Linked DNA regions of Homo sapiens: regions 1 and 3 are each linked to region 2. The links are contacts of gene promoters, found by promoter capture Hi-C in human tissues and cell types (Jung and others, 2019). All regions are on one chromosome and are shown on one strand. Each heading gives the region's core, a stretch centred on a gene start or on the middle of the fragment in contact. The rest is flanking DNA. Distances are from core to core; before and after follow the strand shown.

What was found. Contacts are between HindIII fragments. The study calls those that stand out against the background at their distance.
Region 1: a fragment that was not itself captured here is called in contact with the fragment with the promoter of ENPP1 in region 2 in 1 of the 25 tissues and cell types used here (dorsolateral prefrontal cortex).
Region 3: a fragment that was not itself captured here is called in contact with the fragment with the promoter of ENPP1 in region 2 in 1 of the 25 tissues and cell types used here (IMR-90 fibroblasts).

Annotation. Positions count from the first base shown.
Region 1 is chr6:131,622,318-131,625,623 of GRCh38, forward strand. It overlaps MED23 (mediator complex subunit 23), which reads right to left. Exons shown (of 29, transcript NM_004830.4): 4 at 2,548-2,672; 5 at 1,034-1,145. Among named protein-coding and RNA genes, the nearest start is that of MED23, 4.3 kb to the right of the region's middle. The HindIII fragment of the contact is 5,524 bases long and covers 1-3,306 here.
Region 2 is chr6:131,806,705-131,809,723 of GRCh38, forward strand. ENPP1 (ectonucleotide pyrophosphatase/phosphodiesterase 1) reads left to right here and starts at 1,316. Exons shown (of 25, transcript NM_006208.3): 1 at 1,316-1,571. The coding sequence starts at 1,332. The HindIII fragment of the contact is 10,154 bases long and covers 1-3,019 here.
Region 3 is chr6:131,673,162-131,676,149 of GRCh38, forward strand. It overlaps ENPP3 (ectonucleotide pyrophosphatase/phosphodiesterase 3), which reads left to right. Exons shown (of 25, transcript NM_005021.5): 8 at 1,001-1,120; 9 at 1,919-2,028. Among named protein-coding and RNA genes, the nearest start is that of OR2A4, 27 kb to the right of the region's middle. The HindIII fragment of the contact is 5,272 bases long and covers 1-2,988 here.

The DNA.
Region 1 (3,306 bases), core at 109-2,608, 180 kb before region 2:
ACTCTGAAAACTTGAGTAACAATATCAAACTTTTTGGTAGAGGACTGTTTCTGCTCACTCCCTTTTGTGCTGGGATTATAGGTGTAAGCCACTGTGACTGGCCTATTCTCCCTTCTCATCCATCACATACCTTAATCTCTCAAGGATATCCAAGGCTATTCTGTTAATCATTTCCACATATCCAATACCAGTTACATTATCTGATATATAAAGAAGAAATTTCATTCAACATTTATTTATTGACTATGAACTACGTAACCAAGCTTGTAAAAGACAGAACATATACCTAAAAGAACAATTATGAAGTATCATACAAATAAGAAAATTGCATAAGTCTGAGTAAAGAGAAAATAATTAGCAAAAGCTTCTTAGAGTTAACTGTGTGATAAATCATGATTTAAACTAATAATTATCTGTTAGGTCATTACCTGTTAAATCATTTCAGATTAGAGAAAATGCAGAAATAAAGCACAGGGTCAGACACTGGTAATTCCCGGGAAAAGGACAATAACAAAAGTCTCCTGAAGATGCAGAATGGCTTTTGTAGCTATGGAGTCCCTAAGCCGTTTTATGAGACAAAACTAGAAAGTGTATGTTGTTTTTGGTCAAGAGCCCAAAGTGCTGAAGATATTAATTGAGGTAAGACCCACGTTCAAGAGAAGTGAAGCCAGGTCTTGCTCCCTTCATCAGTGATGCCTACATCCCTTCTCAGTTCCACACACCCCTGCTCTGTGCTTTCATTTGAAGGGATCATAATACTTGCAGCATGAAGGAACACGGATTCTGCTTTGTGACTTCCCTGCTCTTCATAAAAATGTATCAGCTACCTGTATTTATAAGAATGTTGGGAGGGGAGTAGCGGAGCCAGGGAAACAACTGAGTAACTTTAAATCTTTTCAGGAAATATACCACAAGAAATAGACAGATTTTGTAAATGCTTCCACATCATTTCTCTCACCTGAAAATAAGACATGCACACCGAAAAATCAATCATATCTGAAAGCAATCACTTTTTATAATAAGAAAAATATACCTTGTAATCCACTCCCCCAATTATTTTCCGAACCAGTTTAAATGTTAAGGCCCAAAGCTGTGTTCTTTCCCACTCAAGAGTGTCAGAGTTTATCAGGGATTCACAAACCAGCCTATAAAAAAAGAAATAGCCATTCCAGTTACAAGACAGAATTTTCCAAGTTCTCTAATAGCCGCCAATATGGTTTGGCTGTGTACTCACACAAATCTCATCTTGAATTGTAGTTCCCATAATCCCCACGTGTCATGAGAAAAACCATTTAAATCATGAGGGACAGTTCCCCCAATACTGTTCTCATGATAGTGAGTTAGTTCTCACAAGATCTAATGGTTTTATATGGGGATTCCCCCTTCACTGGGCACTCATTCTCTCTCCCACCACCCTGTGATGAGGTGCCTTTTGCCATTATTCTAAGTTTCCTGAGGCCTCCCTAGCCATGCCAAACTGTGAGTCAATTAAACCTCTTTCCTTTATAAGTTACCCAGTCTCGGGTATATCTTTGTTAGCAGCATCAGACAGACTAATACAGCCATAGTCTGTGCACTGTATTATATTTATCCTCACAAGTGTCTTTCATAAAAGTGATTACTAAGCACACTTATAAATCTGTGTAGTATTTTACATTTTTTACTTGTATGAAAGATCAAAAACAAAGTAAGAATGAAATAATATTCATTATGTTATATTTTACTAGAAAGAAGTCTATCTAAAGCTTTCGGTTAGATGTTTACCATCTATCACCTTGTGGTACACTGGATTTTTCCAACAGGATGGCAACAAGATTTTTGATCCCACATCTTCTTCTGAAATGTGACACTGACATTTCTCCCAAGGAGAGGTAGGGGGAAAGTCTACGTTCTCACTCCTTAGATCTGGGCAGACCTAAGACTATGGCCAAAAGGATGCAGTATGACTTCCAAGAAGACAAGGTGATACAATTTCTGCCTAGCCCTCTTTTGCACACTTGCTGTTAGGCTCCACCATGAGGTGAGAAAGTCTAGGCCACAAGGTGAGGGCCTGCGGAGGTTCTGGCTAATAATCCCAGCTGAGGTTCCAGATGACAGCCAGGAATCAACCACCAGATATCTGAGTGGGGAAGCTTTTGCCATGCTCCAGCCCTAGCCACATTGATCACAATCATTATGACCTTGAGTAAAAAGTGTCTCCTAAGCCGAGTCAACCACTAAAACCATGAATAATTTTAAAACCTGAGTATTACTGTTTTAAGCCATAAGGTGTTGAGGTTGTGCAGCAAAAGTAAAGGGTTACAAACTAATTAAAGTGATTAATTTCAGCCCCTGGGCAGAAACATCTGGTTTTGAGCCCACAAGCATTACCTAATTCAAAGACTATTACTCCTAGAAACTAAAACCTGAGGTATTATATAAAGGATTACTTGATAAACCTCACCTTCTTCTTCATTCTCTTACCTTTTTACAACAACAACCTCAACCAATTTCCAATCACATATAGAAAAGAAAATTCTTCAGATTGCTCATACCCATTAAACGTACCTGGGTGGAAGGAGACCAGTCTCAACTGCCATTGCTAAGCAGTCATAAAGAAAAGAAATTCTTTTAGGACTATGCTGACCATGAATAAACTTAACAATCCACTGGATACACTGTTCATGAGACTCCTGGAAAATGAGAGAATGATTTTACTTGGGGTCTAAAGTTACATTTTTATAACCAATAGCTAATACTACAACTGGAAGTATACCAATACTATGAAAGAAATACTTCACTATGAGCATCTGTGGATGAAAATAATTTTTAAAAAAAGCAAAATTAAAAAATTCAGATTTAGTATTTGTCACATTAAGCTTAACATTTTGTAATTACATAGATAAAATGCTACCATTTTTATTACATGGGAACTTCAAAAGTAGTAATTAATTAGTTAACATATTAACGGTCAATAGAAAACTCTTAACACAGATTGTTGTAAGGCATTGTAAACAGTGCCCTTTATGGCATATATAAATATTACTGTCACTGGGGGTAAAATTCATTATGGATCAGTATGTATCAGGCTTAGGAGAATTAGGTGTGAATCCAATCCCTAAGATCCCAAACAAGAGCCCATTATGAATCCAATGACATGTCACATTTCTAGACTGGCAAAACTTTAAATACGATGTCAAAATGTTGTGCCCGTATCAAAGTTTGTCTTCTAGGATTATCTCCAAAAAGAGCCTATAATGTTCTGCTTCTCTCCACAACCACTGTTCTCATACATACTTCTATTGTGGCACATATAACAATGATTTG
Region 2 (3,019 bases), core at 66-2,565:
ATATGACTTAGGTTTTAATTATTTTGTTTACGAGTTGGTCCTACCCCCCCACCCCCGCTTCCACCACACTTAAGGAAAGATACATTTTAATTCATTTTTTATATGGTATGCATAGTTGGAGGCCAAAAGATTGAGTTGAAGGATTCATTACTTGATGAATAAATGGATGGGTGGATGGATGAGTCAGTATAAATGAAGAGCATCCCAAGTTGACTATTTTAAAGGGATAACATGCATTTTATATTTGTTAAACATTCATTCTCATTTGTAAACACTTGTATATATTCATGTATTCAAAATGTATTGAAAATTAATTGTTTTCCTTGGTACCTGAAGTCAGTCCTGGGTATTGCAAAGTAGTTCGAAGTCACTGGTTTCCCTCTGTCTCACTTCACTACACACTGGTGATTTTGCTAAGTGATGAGCCAGAAAATGTACAAGTTCCAGAATCAAAGGTAAAACAAAACCCACCAAGAATCAGCTCACTGTTAGCGTCCTAGTTGAAAAATAAGGCTTATCAAAGTATTTCAGATTGCATTAACACTTTTGATATAGCTAGGTATCAGTGTCAACCTCAGGAGAGGGCAACGCCAACTCCTGAAACCTTCAATACAGAAAGTCTAGAAAAATAAGCAAATATACATACAAACAATAGCGAGAAGACTCCAGAAACCACATAAAACCGTGGGAATCGAAATATCCCTTACGTGTGTTCAGTACATGTGAACCCACGTATTTTAAGTGGACGATTTCTCTCTCAGAGTACCGTAGGTAGTGGGGGACGGGGCGCAGAGGGGGAGAAACAGAAAGTCGCCTTCCTCCATGGTTCATTTGCATTTCCATCCAGAAACTCACAGGTCGACCCCAAGACTCCACTCTCTCCCGCCTTTGAGAAGCCGGACCGGCATCGGCGGCTGCATCCTTCTCCTCCTCCCCGCTCTATTTTGGGGCCCCATGATCTCATGCCCTCTGCAGACCACACGCTGCAATTCCAGCCCAGCCCGCGCCGCGAGGCCACGCAGGGCGATTCCTGCAAGTGTCGGGAGGGTGGCCGGGGCGCGGGGAGGGGACGGCTTGGGGGGAAGTTTAAGACACGCCCACGTAAGGGACCCAAAATAACCGACACACAGAGTGCCCGAAATCAGACAGGAAGCCAAATAATCCGGGGCGTTGAGTCGCTTTGCCCTGACTGCGAGAGCCGGGTGTAGGGCGGGGAGCCAAGGATCTGACCGCGAGGGGCGGGCGCGGCGGGGAGGGGCGGGGCGGGGCGGGCGGCGCGGGGCCTATTAAAGGCGCGGCCGGGCAGCGGGGCCGGAGCGGCCGGGGCCACGATGGAGCGCGACGGCTGCGCGGGGGGCGGGAGCCGCGGCGGCGAGGGCGGGCGCGCTCCCCGGGAGGGCCCGGCGGGGAACGGCCGCGATCGGGGCCGCAGCCACGCTGCCGAGGCGCCCGGGGACCCGCAGGCGGCCGCGTCCTTGCTGGCCCCTATGGACGTGGGGGAGGAGCCGCTGGAGAAGGCGGCGCGCGCCCGCACTGCCAAGGACCCCAACACCTATAAAGTACTCTCGCTGGTAGGTCCGCGGCCAGGCCCCGGCGCCCGGGAGGGCTGGGAGTACGGGGAGGGCGGCGCCGAGCTCCTGCGCTCTCAGCGCAGTCAGCACCGGGCACCGGAGAGAGGCATGGTCCGGGAGTGCTTCTTCGCCCGCGCGCTCTCCTCCGCAGCCTTTGCAAGTGCCCTACACAGCCGCCCCTGCCAGGTACCTTGCCAGGGCAGGATGGTTCACTCTCACTTGAATTATGGATGCCTGTGAAAGCAGGCTGTTCAAAACGGTCATCCTTAGAAATACTCGACCCCCTGCCCCAGGAGAGTACGGGTTTTTAGAGGAGAAAAATGTCAAACGCGAAAGTTGTTGGTCTTAAGAAGGTGCATCAATGTGTTGCTTCTTTTAGGGGGCTCTGGGCGCAGTATACATGACTTCACTTGGGTTAACTGATTGCAGTTGAAGAGTTAGCGGAGCTCTTTAAGTTTTATTAGGAACTCTACGGAACACTTTTTCCCTTTCGCTCCGTTTTGGAATTTCCTTGCAGGTGCTCAGAAATTCCATGGATGTTCACATTATGTGACTGAAGAAACCTTTATGATTCTTTGCCCACTCTTCTAACCAGAGGCTACACGGTTTGTGTTGCTAACAAAAGCTACCTATTACTCCTCTGCTATTTTGCTATGACATTTGCAGGACCCACAGTCAACTTCATGAAATGTGGGGGTTGGTTTTTATTCTGAATTCATGGTGGGAAGTGCTGATTGAGAGAAGGCCTGGATTCCTGGCTGTTATTATTTGCTGAGGCCTTGCGTAACTGTCCCTAAACCTCAATTTCTAATGTGTGAAAATGGGACAACATCAACTCCCTTGTGCATTGCATGGGATTATTGTGAAAATCAAGCTGAAGAATGTAGGTAGGGAAGTAAATTGAAAACAGCAAGGAAATAGAATCATTTTTATTGTATTATATGGAAATCACAGATTTCTATGTATAGTGTACCCTAAAATATATCCCCTTACATATGATTGAATAATGCTTTGTAGAAAAATTTCTAATTTTTCAAGTCTCCTTTCATTTTGTATGCATTTCCATTTTCACTATATTTGGGACATCATGGAGATGCTATAATACTTTGAGGAATCAATCTTCCTAGACTTAAGAGATGGTGCCGTATGCTTAGTACTTAAAAAGAAGCCTTAGTTTCACAGAATAAGTACCCCAAGCCACATGATGTTTGCATCTCAAGATAAAATTTTGCATCTTGTAACACTGTTTTGAGTCTATAATAACACAATATTGATGAGAACTTAGTCTCTTGAGTCACCTTTTAAAAATTTTGTTAATGGAAGACCTTAGCTTTTACAACCTGATCACTTAAATTGTTTAGTATTAATACCTTGAGGTGTTTCACACACGATGAGGTAGTCGATAATTGTATATGGAATCAGTGTGTAACTCTTGTGTAAAACCATTT
Region 3 (2,988 bases), core at 275-2,774, 130 kb before region 2:
TATTTGCTGCTGTAAACCATAATAGAACTAGAAAAAATATATATATATACACACTTGGCCCTCCATATGTGTGGGTTCTGAATCCGTGGATTCAACTAACTGTGGATTGAAAATATTTGGGTGGAATCAACCTAAATGCCCATCAATGACAGACTAGATAGAGAAAGTGGTACCTATACACCATGGAATATTATGCAGCCATAAAAAAGCAAGCTCATGTTTTTTGTGGGAACATAAATGGAGCTGGAGACTATCATCCTTAGCAAACTATATACCACACATTCTCACTTATAAGTGGGAGCTAAATGATAGGAACTTATTAACGCAAAGGGGAAACAACAGACACTGGGGTCTGCTTGAGGCAGGAGGGTGGGAGGAGGGAGAGGAGCAGAAAGTATAACTATTGAGTGCTGGCTTAATACCTGGGTGATGAAATAATATGTACAACAAACCCCTATGACACATGTTTACCTAGGTAACAAACCTTCACATGTACCCCCAAACCTAAAATAAAAGTGGAAGAAAGAGAGAAAGAAAAGACAGACAGACAGACAGACAGAAAGAAAGAAAGAAAGAAAATATTTGGAAAAAAATTGCGTCTGTACTGAACATGTACAGACTTTTTTTTGTCACTATTCCCTAAACAATACAACAATGATTGACATAGCATGTATATTGCATTAGCTATTATAAGTAATCTAGAGATGATTAAAATATATAGGAGGGTATGCATAGGTTATATGCAAATCCCAAGCCATTTACTAGCAGGGACTTAAACATCTTCTGATTTTGGTACCTGAGGGAGGTCATGGAACTAATGCCCTATGAAAGCCAAGGGATGACAATATCTCCTGATATGTAAGTTCAGGTCCAGGTGTTTTACATTGAAAGGTATATAGTACCTTTCTTAGGTATGAGTAATAGATCGTGTGCTATTTTAATTTAAATTTCTATTTTACTAATATTTTATCTTACATCTTTTTTGAAATTATCATTTTAGGGCTTGTATCCAGAGTCACATGGCATCATTGACAATAATATGTATGATGTAAATCTCAACAAGAATTTTTCACTTTCTTCAAAGGAACAAAATAATCCAGCCTGGTGGCATGGGCAACCAGTATGTAGCATTCTACACGTCGCAACTGAAGTAACCTCCATTTCTCAGTGTGACAGGAGGACACTCTTCTCACTCAGTGGAGCAAGTTCTATGTCACCCATCTAGTTTCTAAGGGCTGAGGGTGCAAAGGTGTTTTACCACTATTTGTAACTTGAATTTTTAAAACATTTATGGTTGTTAACTCAAATAGGTATGTTTAAACTTGGATATTGGGTTATAAATGTATCCATCTGGAAGTTACTCAGAAAGATTATCTGTTAATGTTTTTCCTCATTTTGTTTTGTAAGTCTTTTTTTTTTTCTTTTTTTTTGAGATGGAGTCTTGCTCTGTCGCCAGGCTGGAGTGCAGTGGTGTGATCTCGGCTTACTGTAACCTCTGCTTCTCAGGTTCAAGCACTTCTGCCTCAGCCTCCCGAGTAGCTGGGACTACAGGCACGCACCACCACGCCCAGCTAATTTTTTTGTATTTTTAGTAGAGATGGGGTTTCACCATGTTGGCCGGGATGATCTCTATCTCCTGACCTCGTGATCCTCCTGCCTCGGCCTCCCAAAGTGCTGGGATTACAGGTTGTAATTCTTTTAAAGGGAGAGAGGAACCATCCAATTTTACCAGTTTGATTGCTACGTTTTTGATTTTTGAGGCAGATTCTTAGATAATTATATCTTTTAATTACTACAAAGATTAAAATTTCAATTTTAATACATGTTGCAACTATTAATCTTGTTTAGTTTCTAGTAAGGTACACCATTTCTACCCAAAGTAATTACTGACTTTCGCTTATCCTAAATTTTCTTACAGATGTGGCTGACAGCAATGTATCAAGGTTTAAAAGCCGCTACCTACTTTTGGCCCGGATCAGAAGTGGCTATAAATGGCTCCTTTCCTTCCATATACATGCCTTACAACGGGTAGTGAAGCACTTTCAGATATTCTCCCAGCTAGGCAGAAATGATCAAGATGTTTTCTGTCTTAATCTTGGTGGCAATTCTATTAATCCAGTTGTTTAAGCCAAAAATCTTGGGAATCACCATTGATTCCTTTCCTTTATGTCACTCAAGCAGTCTCTCAGTAAATGCTTTTGGCTGTAATTAAAAATCTATGTAGCCTGAGAACTTTTTATTACCTCTAGCATTACCACTCTGGTTCGAGCTGTCATCTCTTGCCTGTATTAACTGCAGTTGCCTCTTTACTCATCTCTGCTTCTTATCCTTTATAATCTAGTCTCATCCCACCCACCAGAGGGATTCCTTTAAAATTCAAGTCCAGCCAGGTGCGGTGGCTCATGCCTGTAATCCCAGCAGTTTGGGAGGCTGAGATGGGCTGATCACCTGAGGTCAGGAGTTCAAGACCAGCCTGGTCAACATGGTGAAACCCTGTCTCTACCAGAAGAAAAAATACAAAAATTAGCTGGGCATGGTGGCGCATTACCTCTAATCTTGGCTACTCTGGAGGCTGAGGTGGGAGAATAGCTTGAACCCAGGAGGTGGAGGTTGCAGTGAGCTGAGATCAGGGGCTCCTGCAGTGTAGTCCAGCCTGGGCGACAGAGCGCGACTCCGTCTCAAATGAATAAAATAAAATTAAATAAAATAAAATGCAAGTCCAATTATGGCATTATTTTGCACCAAAAACTTCAATGGCCCCCTGTGTCACTCAGAGTAAAAGCTTACAAGGCCCTGTGTGGCATGACCTCTGGTGTCCCCTTACCTCTCAGACCTCCCCTTCTGCTACTCCCTCGGGTGCTCACTCTGAACTCGTTGGTGGACTTCAACATGCTAGACTTGCTTCTGCTGCAGGACATTGCACTGGCTGTTCACCCTCCCTGAGATGATTTGCTCCATGGATCCGAATGCCTACTCTTTCCCTGCCTT